3 separate regions of the Homo sapiens genome follow, and all the other regions are linked to region 1. The links are contacts of gene promoters, found by promoter capture Hi-C in blood cells and fetal thymus (Javierre and others, 2016). All regions are on one chromosome and are shown on one strand. The core of a region is centred on a gene start or on the middle of the fragment in contact, and the rest is flanking DNA. Distances in the headings are between cores, read along the strand shown.

Evidence for each region. The method cuts DNA at HindIII sites, captures the fragments that hold promoters and counts their contacts. A CHiCAGO score of 5 or more calls a contact.
Region 2: a contact is called between a fragment that was not itself captured here and the fragment with the promoter of CCDC6 in region 1, in 1 of 17 cell types (activated CD4 T cells). The highest score is 5.8, in activated CD4 T cells.
Region 3: a contact is called between the fragment with the promoter of REEP3 here and the fragment with the promoter of CCDC6 in region 1, in 2 of 17 cell types (fetal thymus and non-activated CD4 T cells). The highest score is 8.2, in fetal thymus.

The regions. Positions count from the first base shown.
Region 1 is chr10:59,905,200-59,907,899 of GRCh38, reverse strand. It overlaps CCDC6 (coiled-coil domain containing 6), which reads left to right and starts at 1,344. Exons shown (of 9, transcript NM_005436.5): 1 at 1,344-1,778. The coding sequence starts at 1,476. RefSeq lists silencers at 755-1,049, 1,232-1,571, 1,602-1,881 and an enhancer at 2,402-2,631. The HindIII fragment of the contact is 3,234 bases long and covers 1-2,637 here.
Region 2 is chr10:63,143,703-63,146,402 of GRCh38, reverse strand. NRBF2 (nuclear receptor binding factor 2) reads right to left here. Exons shown (of 4, transcript NM_030759.5): 2 at 110-194. Among named protein-coding and RNA genes, the nearest start is that of NRBF2, 12 kb to the right of the region's middle. The HindIII fragment of the contact is 215 bases long and covers 1,305-1,519 here.
Region 3 is chr10:63,520,100-63,522,831 of GRCh38, reverse strand. REEP3 (receptor accessory protein 3) reads right to left here and starts at 1,431. Exons shown (of 8, transcript NM_001001330.3): 1 at 1,255-1,431. The coding sequence starts at 1,286. It also overlaps a transcript of JMJD1C not described here. RefSeq lists a silencer at 746-1,795 and an enhancer at 2,186-2,235. The HindIII fragment of the contact is 3,716 bases long and covers 210-2,732 here.

The sequences.
Region 1 (2,700 bases), core at 95-2,594:
TCTTCTTTCTTCCTAACACTTTAGAAATCTTTCAGAAAGTTCAACCCAACAGAAAAAAAAATTACACTTTTTTTTCTATTTTCTATTACCATGTGTTTGTTGTAATGTTAACTAAGCGTGGGTAATAAAACTAGTCTGGTCAGTTTCACTTTCCAATTTTTATACATAAGTGAAAGCTGTTTTGTGTCAACAGGGCAAAGTGTTTAGAATCATCTCACCTGCTGGGCCAATTTCCTGCAAGCCTTTCTTTGGGAAGAGGAAGGGGGAATAAAAGTTTTTGATTTTTAATTTCTTAAACTGCAAAGCTAGAACCATGAATTAGACCGCATTACAGTAATTACTGTTTTATTTTTACATGCTAAAGTTTTCTAGGAGTGAGCAAGAGGATAGCAAAGACGGGTGATGTTGCACTCCCACTCAATCATTACTATTTGTATAGCATAATGTTATGTCCGCAGTTACTTTGGAAAATTGGCACTTAAAGAGGTGTTTCAATCTTCTACTAAAAGTGTTTCGCCTTCCTTTTTTTTTTTCTTCATTAGGTAAATGTTACTGTCTTAATCCTACTACGAGACATGTGCTGGAAATGTTTGCAAAATGCAAAGAGAAAAAGAAAAAAACAGTTGCACCTTGTTTAAACAATTGAGCGCAGTGTGGTTTATGAGGTTATTAAAGGAGATGTGTGTCTCTCCTGCAAATTCTTACTTAACAAGGTTAACCTGTGGCTGCTGTTGTTTCATCCTCCTCGGCCTCTTGTAGAGGAACTTTGTTCTCTTAGGTTTATCCAAGCCTTCCTAGTCAAAAACACCTTGCTTTTGAGAATATAAAACTGCGTGTATGTGTGAAACAGATAGAGGGAGACACGCGCACACACAGTCGGCGGAAGATGGGGCCACAACACGGTAGAGGATGGGTGCCGGAGCCCGGCTGACCTTTCCACGTGTCCCCGGCACCTGCGAGGCTGGTGGGGCATCAGGTTTCCTTTTTCTCGGGGCGGGCGCGAGCCCGGAAGAGGCTGGGCGGCCGTGGGCTTAGATCAGGGGGCTCGGAGGCCCTCCCTTGGAACACGTGTGGCTGGCGAGCTGGTGGTGCGGGGGCAGTCCTTGGCTTTCCCGCACCCGCAGTGCCTGCGCGTTCCCAGCCCGCCCGTGGTCACCAGACGGCGGCGGGCGGGTCCCGGAGCTTTCAGCCAGCTTTGCTGGGCGGCCTAGGGAGCGCGCCCAGCCCGGCTGGAGCGAGCCCCAGTGCAATACTGCCCAAGCCCGGGCGGGGTCTCTGTTCTCTGGCAGAGGAGGTCCCTTGGCAGCGGGAAGCGCCCTCTCTTTCTCTCGCCGCCGCTCCGAGTCTGCGCCCTGGTGCCAGGCGCTCAGCTCGGCGCTCCCCTGTGCTCGCCCGGCGCCCACTCATTCGCAGCCCGGCCTTCGTCGCCGCCGCCTCCCTGCTGCTCCTCCTCCTTTCCCCAGCCCGCCGCGGCCATGGCGGACAGCGCCAGCGAGAGCGACACGGACGGGGCGGGGGGCAACAGCAGCAGCTCGGCCGCCATGCAGTCGTCCTGCTCGTCGACCTCGGGCGGCGGCGGTGGCGGCGGGGGAGGCGGCGGCGGTGGGAAGTCGGGGGGCATTGTCATCTCGCCGTTCCGCCTGGAGGAGCTCACCAACCGCCTGGCCTCGCTGCAGCAAGAGAACAAGGTGCTGAAGATAGAGCTGGAGACCTACAAACTGAAGTGCAAGGCACTGCAGGAGGAGAACCGCGACCTGCGCAAAGCCAGCGTGACCATCGTGAGTGCCCCCCGGGGACGCGCCGCAGCGCCGACCTCCGCCCGCCCCGGGAGGGGCTGCACCCGAATCCAGCCACCCCCCAAGTCTTCCCCAGATTCCCGGGGACCCTCTGAGAGCACACTCCCTGCGGGGACCTGCTGGCTTCCGGGAGGAGAGGGAGGTATCCCTTCGGGGCCACGCGGGTCTGTCCTCCTCGGGGGTCTGAGGACCCTTGCGCGGTGCGGGGGAAGGCTACTGTGGCAACCATTCATGGTCCCTTTTAGCCTCTGGAGAGGAGGCCCCTCCGGGGCTGGGCTGGAGGCTGGCGGCGTGGCTGGGGGGCGGGGTAGGACTTTTTTCAGCCCTAGCATGTTTGAGGGGTGCGTCCAGAATCTGGGGAACCCCAGTCCTGGAAGAGGGAGGAAGCTGGGATCTCTTACTGGGTCCTGGCTCGGAGTGTGGGGGTTCGCAGCTGGACTGGGCACTAAGCTGGCATCTGGACTGCGCTAGCTGGATCGCCCGGGGAGGGGGCGGGAGAGAGTGGCCGGGAATCCGGGAAGTGGAGTTTTCTGGCCGGGATCGAGAGGGAAGGGCGGGTACGGCGCTAATGCTCCCACCTCTGTTGGAAGCTCTTTGCTTTGGGTTGGGAGGGTGGACGGTTTACAGCGAGGAGAGTGCAGCATCCACGCCTGGACAGGGCTGGGGCCGAAACCAGGGGAAGGGTAGTGACTGTGACTCCCTGGCTGAGCCAGAGGTACGTGTGTTTGCTTCATTCGTGGAGTGGTTAGAAGTATCTTGCTTCTGAGTCTAGATACTGGAGAACAGGCCATCTGTTCTGTTTCTACCTGTCCCCTGGAGGCTGCCCAGAAACGGGTAAGCTTGGGTCTGTAGGTCTCTCTCCTGGTGTGGCAGGCGTTTAGAAAGGCCCCTATAGCAGTGATGA
Region 2 (2,700 bases), core at 163-2,662, 3.2 Mb before region 1:
TCTGGTGGGTCAGCAGTATCAGTCTTGCATATGAAAAGCAACACACATTATTACTATTGTGACTTTCTGCTCTTCAGTTTTACACTGAGTACTTAATAAGAATACTCACCTGCAGCCTTTTTGTGACAAGAAATAGCCTCTTCGTATTTGCCTGCAGCTAATAAACGGTCTGCTCGTCTGCTCTGTTGATGAGCCTAGAAGACAAACATCCCTAAGTTCCTCTGGATCATAAAATAAAACATGATTTCTTTCAAAAAGCAACTACCTTTTAAGAAGATAAATAATACTGTTTTGTTGCCACATATCAAATCACTATTACAGCTCTATCTGTAGCTGGGGAAATGTAATGGGTAGAGCCTAGAACTGCAGCATCTGAAAGGAACTGGCAACTTCTTTCACTTCTACCATAAGCCCTCTCAAGGTTAACACCAGGCACTTAACTCCTTCAGTGACTCACATTCTTCCACTCTTTGGAGATAAACCAAGAGTTACAATCATAGATTGTTATTCAAAATGTCTATTTTCTTGATTTTTAACAAGCTCCTTTCAAAACAAGAGCTATTTTGTAGATACTTTCACTAATCTGTATAGTCTAAAAACTATAATCAGGAAATCACTCATCATGTAGTAAAATCCAAGCTTCTCTTCTATCATCTCATTCTTTCAACATTAAAGTTACTATTTGTTTTTAAAATAAAAAATTTGGACATTGCAGTTGATGAATTCATGATACCAACATCTAATATTACAAAGATTGTTTTAAAGATATCTCATCAAAAGAACAAAGTCAAAAAAATCAGAAGTTCTAACAGCAAATAATGTAATTGAAGGAAAACTTATTAAATAAGCAGTCACTGGCCTCCTTACACTTTAATAATTTCAAAAGAGCTTTAAGTCCAGGCACAGTGGCTCATGGCTGTAATCCCAGCACTTTGGGAGGCTGAGGCAGGCGGATCATCTGAGGTCAGGAGTTCAAGACCAGCCTGGCCAACATGGTGAAACCCCATCTCTACTAGAAATACAAAAATTAGCTGGGCGCAGTGGCTCACGCCTGTAATCCCAACACTTTGGGAGGCCGAGGCGGGCAGATCATGAGGTCAGGAGATCGAGACCATCCTGGCTAACAGGGTGAAACACCGTCTCTGCGGGCGCCTGTAATCCCAGCTACTCAGGAGGCTGAGGCAGGAGAACTGCTTGAACCTGGGAGGCAGAGGTTGCAATGAGGCAAGATCATGCCATTGCTCTCCAGCCTGGGTGAAAACAGTGAAACTCCATCTCAAAAAAAAAAAAAAAAAAAAAAAGCTTTAATATACATTATTTCAGCTGCTTTAACTACGACTTTGTTAATGTGTTTTCCTCTCTTACATAAGGAGGCCCAAAAGACTGATGGGGAGGTCGTGTAACTTACATAAGATTATACATTTAACTAGCAAGGAGAAAGGCAGAGATAATCAGCTAAAGTTTTCTACCTCATGTAACGATTTTCCTCAGTAACAAACACACACGATTTAGCAAAGCTTCACAGCTTCACAAAAAAGCAAAAAGCATTGTACACCCATATTCATAACAGCATTATTCACAACAGCCAAAAGGTGAAAGCAATCCAGATGTCCATCAACAGATAGATGGATAAATGCAGTATACACACACAATGGAAAGGTACTGTCTTTAAAAGTAAGGTAATTCTGGCCGGGCGCGGTGGCTCACGCCTGTAATCCTAGCACTTTTGGAGGCCGAGGCAGGCAAATCACAAGGTCAGGAGATCGAGACCATCTTGGCTAACACGGTGAAACCCCGTCTCTACTAAAAATACAAAAAAAATTAGCCAGGCGTGGTGGGGGGCACCTGTTGTCCCAGCTACTCAGGAGGCTGAGGCAGGAGAATAGCGTGAACCCGGAAGGCAGAGCTTGCAGTGAGCCGAGATCGCGCCACTCCACTCCAGCCTGGGTGACAGAGCGAGACTGTGTCTCAAAAAAAAAAAAAAAGGGAAGATAATTCTGACACATACTACAACATGGATGAACTGTGAGGACATTAGACTGAATAAAATAAGCCAGTCATAAAAGGACAAATACTATACAAATCGACTTATTGGGTATCTAAAGTAGTCAAATTCTTAAAAACAGGAAAGTTGAATGGTGGAACAACTCATCATTGAACAGGGGAGGGGGAAATGGGGAGTAGGTATTCAAACGGCATAGTTTCAGTTTTGCAAGATGAAAAAATTCTGGACATTTGTTGCACAACCATGCGAATATACTTAACACTACTAAACTGTACACTTAAAAATAATTAAGAAGGTAAACTTCACGTGTTTTTTACATCACTTAAAAAAGGTAAAAAGTGGCTGGGTGCTGTGGCTCATGCCTATAATCCCAGCACTTTAGGAGGCCAAAGCAGGCAGATCACTCGAGCTCAAGAGTTTGAGACAAGCCTGGGCAATATGGTGAAAACCCATCTCTACAAAAAATACAAAAATTAGCCGGGTGTGGCGCTCGCACCTGTAGTAGTAGTCCCAGCTACTGAGGAGGCTGAGGTAGGACAATCACTTGAGCCTGGGTAATGGAGGCTGCAGTGACCTGTGATCGCACCACTGCACTCCAGTCCGGGCAACAGAGTGAGATCTTGTCTCAAAAAAAAAAAAAAAAAAAAATCGGGCATGGTGGCTCATGCCTGTGATCCCAACACTTGCGGAGGCCA
Region 3 (2,732 bases), core at 182-2,681, 3.6 Mb before region 1:
GTTTCGTACAGGGGAACACAGGAAGCTCTGAGGCTTTAAAACTAGAAACTTTGCGATTTAATCAAATGAAAAATTTTGAATGCTGTGCTGCAAATCTGATTAAATAGGGCTAGTAATTCACTTCCAAACAAAATAAACCCCAAACTCAGAAAATCTAGCTCCTTTTAACAAAAAGTCTGGTAATGTTATTTTTCCTAAATTCTAAAGCTTATCAGAGAAGCCTGCCCCCTCACATAAACATTTTTTCATATACCTTTATGAAACCTTCTGAGATAACACTACTACAGAGGTGAATAATGAATTCATAGGCCCTAGCTGTAACTACGTCATTGTTTACTTGGTGACTTTTTTTTTAATCGGGGAGAGGGGTAAAATGGAGATGAGAGAAAATCAGTTTAAACTGTATTCAAATACATTTACACGATTAACACCACCAACTCAAGGAATTTCTTTTTCTTACAGACCTGTAGCACTTGTTGGTAGGAGAACAATGAAATGAACCCATAATTTGAACAAAGGCAACAGGCACCTGCAGCCTTTCAATCACTTAGCAAATATTTCCGCCGAGACAGGGCCGAATTCGGGGATCTGGGCGAGCAGCCGGTGTCACCTTTCTCGGTAAGCTGCAAATCTTGGGAAAACTAGGACCCTTCCCAGGGATCCTGGGCTGGGAGCGGTCTCCGGTTTTTAGACAAATCTCTCCTCCTACCACACGTGACCGAATGGCAATCAGCCGCCAAGAGAGACACCGCAACGCATCAGCCGCGGGATACAAAGGCTCGGCACTGCCGTCGCATCCTCGGGAGGATCGCGGAGCCTCCCGCGCTCGGCGTCTGCGGAGCCTGCGCAGGGAGCAGCTGCGAGGCGCGCCGCTCCCGGGCCCGCAGGGCGGTGCCGCGCTGCGCGGGGAGCAGGAGCGGGGAGCGCGCGCCGCCTGCCCTGAGCGCCTGCCCACCCAGCGCCGCCGGAGCAGGGGCGCCGCGCCGCACCGCACGCAGCCGAGCAGCGCCACAGCCGCCGCCGCCGTCGCAGCCGCAGTCGCCGCAGCTAGGCCCTCGGCCGTCGCAGGGAGCTCCGCAGCGACGTGGACCAAGGTGAGGAAGCCGAGGGCTCCCCCAGACCCTCGGCAGGCCCGAGGCCGGGCTACCCCGTCCCCGCCCAGGCCCAGGCCTTCCCTTTCCTCTCGGCTCCTTCCCCTTCCCACAGCTCCCCTGGGCCTCGCGCCGGCTGCAGGGCGCAGTGAGAGGCACTTACACCACGGCTCTGGAGATCATCCAGGACACCATCTTCACGGGGGCTTGGGCCCCACGTCCGGGGCGGGTGGGCGCAGGGCGCTGCGGACCAGGCCGCCAACGGCAGGCCGCGCGCTTCGCCGGCTCCTCGCGCTCCCCGGGGCCGCGCTGGCGCCCTCAGGAGCCGGGCCCGGTGTGTGCGCGCGGCGGCCTGGGCTGCGCAGAGGTCGGTCCCCCGCCCGTCCCCGCCCGCCCCCGCCCGCCGGCCCGGCAGCCTAGTCCGGACAGCACCCCGCCCCTGCGCTCCGCTGATAGGCGGTGGCGGCGGCGCGTTGGCCCGGGCCAGGGCTGGGGCCAGGCGGCCGGGCTCCAGGGCTGGGCTGGCGGGATCCTAGCCCGCGCTGGACGGCCTCGCTGCCGCGGCCTTGGCCCCTGCGCTCTAACCAACCTTACCCTCCTTAGCTCTTTGGGACGCCCACACTCGCGGCGAGAGTGGGGCAGGAGGCTGAGGAAGGGTACTGGAGGGTAGGGATTGGCAGTGCCTGTGTGAAAAGTGAGATATTCGCAGGAACTCGGTGTCCAATAAAACTCTCGACCAGGCCCTGGTTTTGGAGAGCCAAGACTTTGAGGTGTGCCTGGCCACATCCGGTATCCTCAGTGTTTACGGAGGCCCAGCACCAAAGGCGTCCTTATATTACCACATTTTAAAGGAATCGTCGAGAGGTTCTTGCACAGGCCTCCGTGTGTGCCACGAGTCTCGTGGTGCAATGCAGGGAGGGACAGAGGAGGATTTCATGTTTGCAGTAGTGGGTGCAGTGATACCACTGTTCTGGGCCTCTTAGGGCACCTTTTCATCAGAGCATCTGCAAAGACTGTTTACAGACACGAATCTCCATTATTTCCCTGAGGCCTGCCAGATGTTCAAAGTAAAGGCTGGGTCTAGGATTCCTGACCTGTCTTAAGATTTACAACTATATTACAGCTGTAAGATTTACAACTGTATTTTTTGGAGGTTGGGTTACTGCTTACACCTTGCTGTTCTTGCAAATATCATTTCAAGGGCAGACTTTTAAAACTGTTTTTTTTTTTTTTTTGTGACAGTACCAAATTGAGAAAATGATGTTAAAGTTTAGATATTTTTATTTTTTCCAGTTAAGACGATAGTAAAAGATAATTCTAGTATTCAGATGGTGCGAAGAATAAAAGATGAAATGTAGGCTTGGAGCCTTTAATTAAAGTCCTAGAAAATATGATGGCTTTTGTGACCATACTGTAATTTTGTCTTCTTGTTCCTCAGTTTCCCTGTGATAAAAAGGGGGTAATAATACTGTAGTCTGTCTCTTGCCTTTCAAGGGTGATATGAGGCACTGCTAAATAATATGTTTAGGAAATACTCTGACTTGCATGGAAGACAATCAAAGGACACAACAGATTATCCTAAATTATTTTCAGTTCTCAGTCAATAAATTGGGTAATATTTCATTATTTAAGAAACAAGCT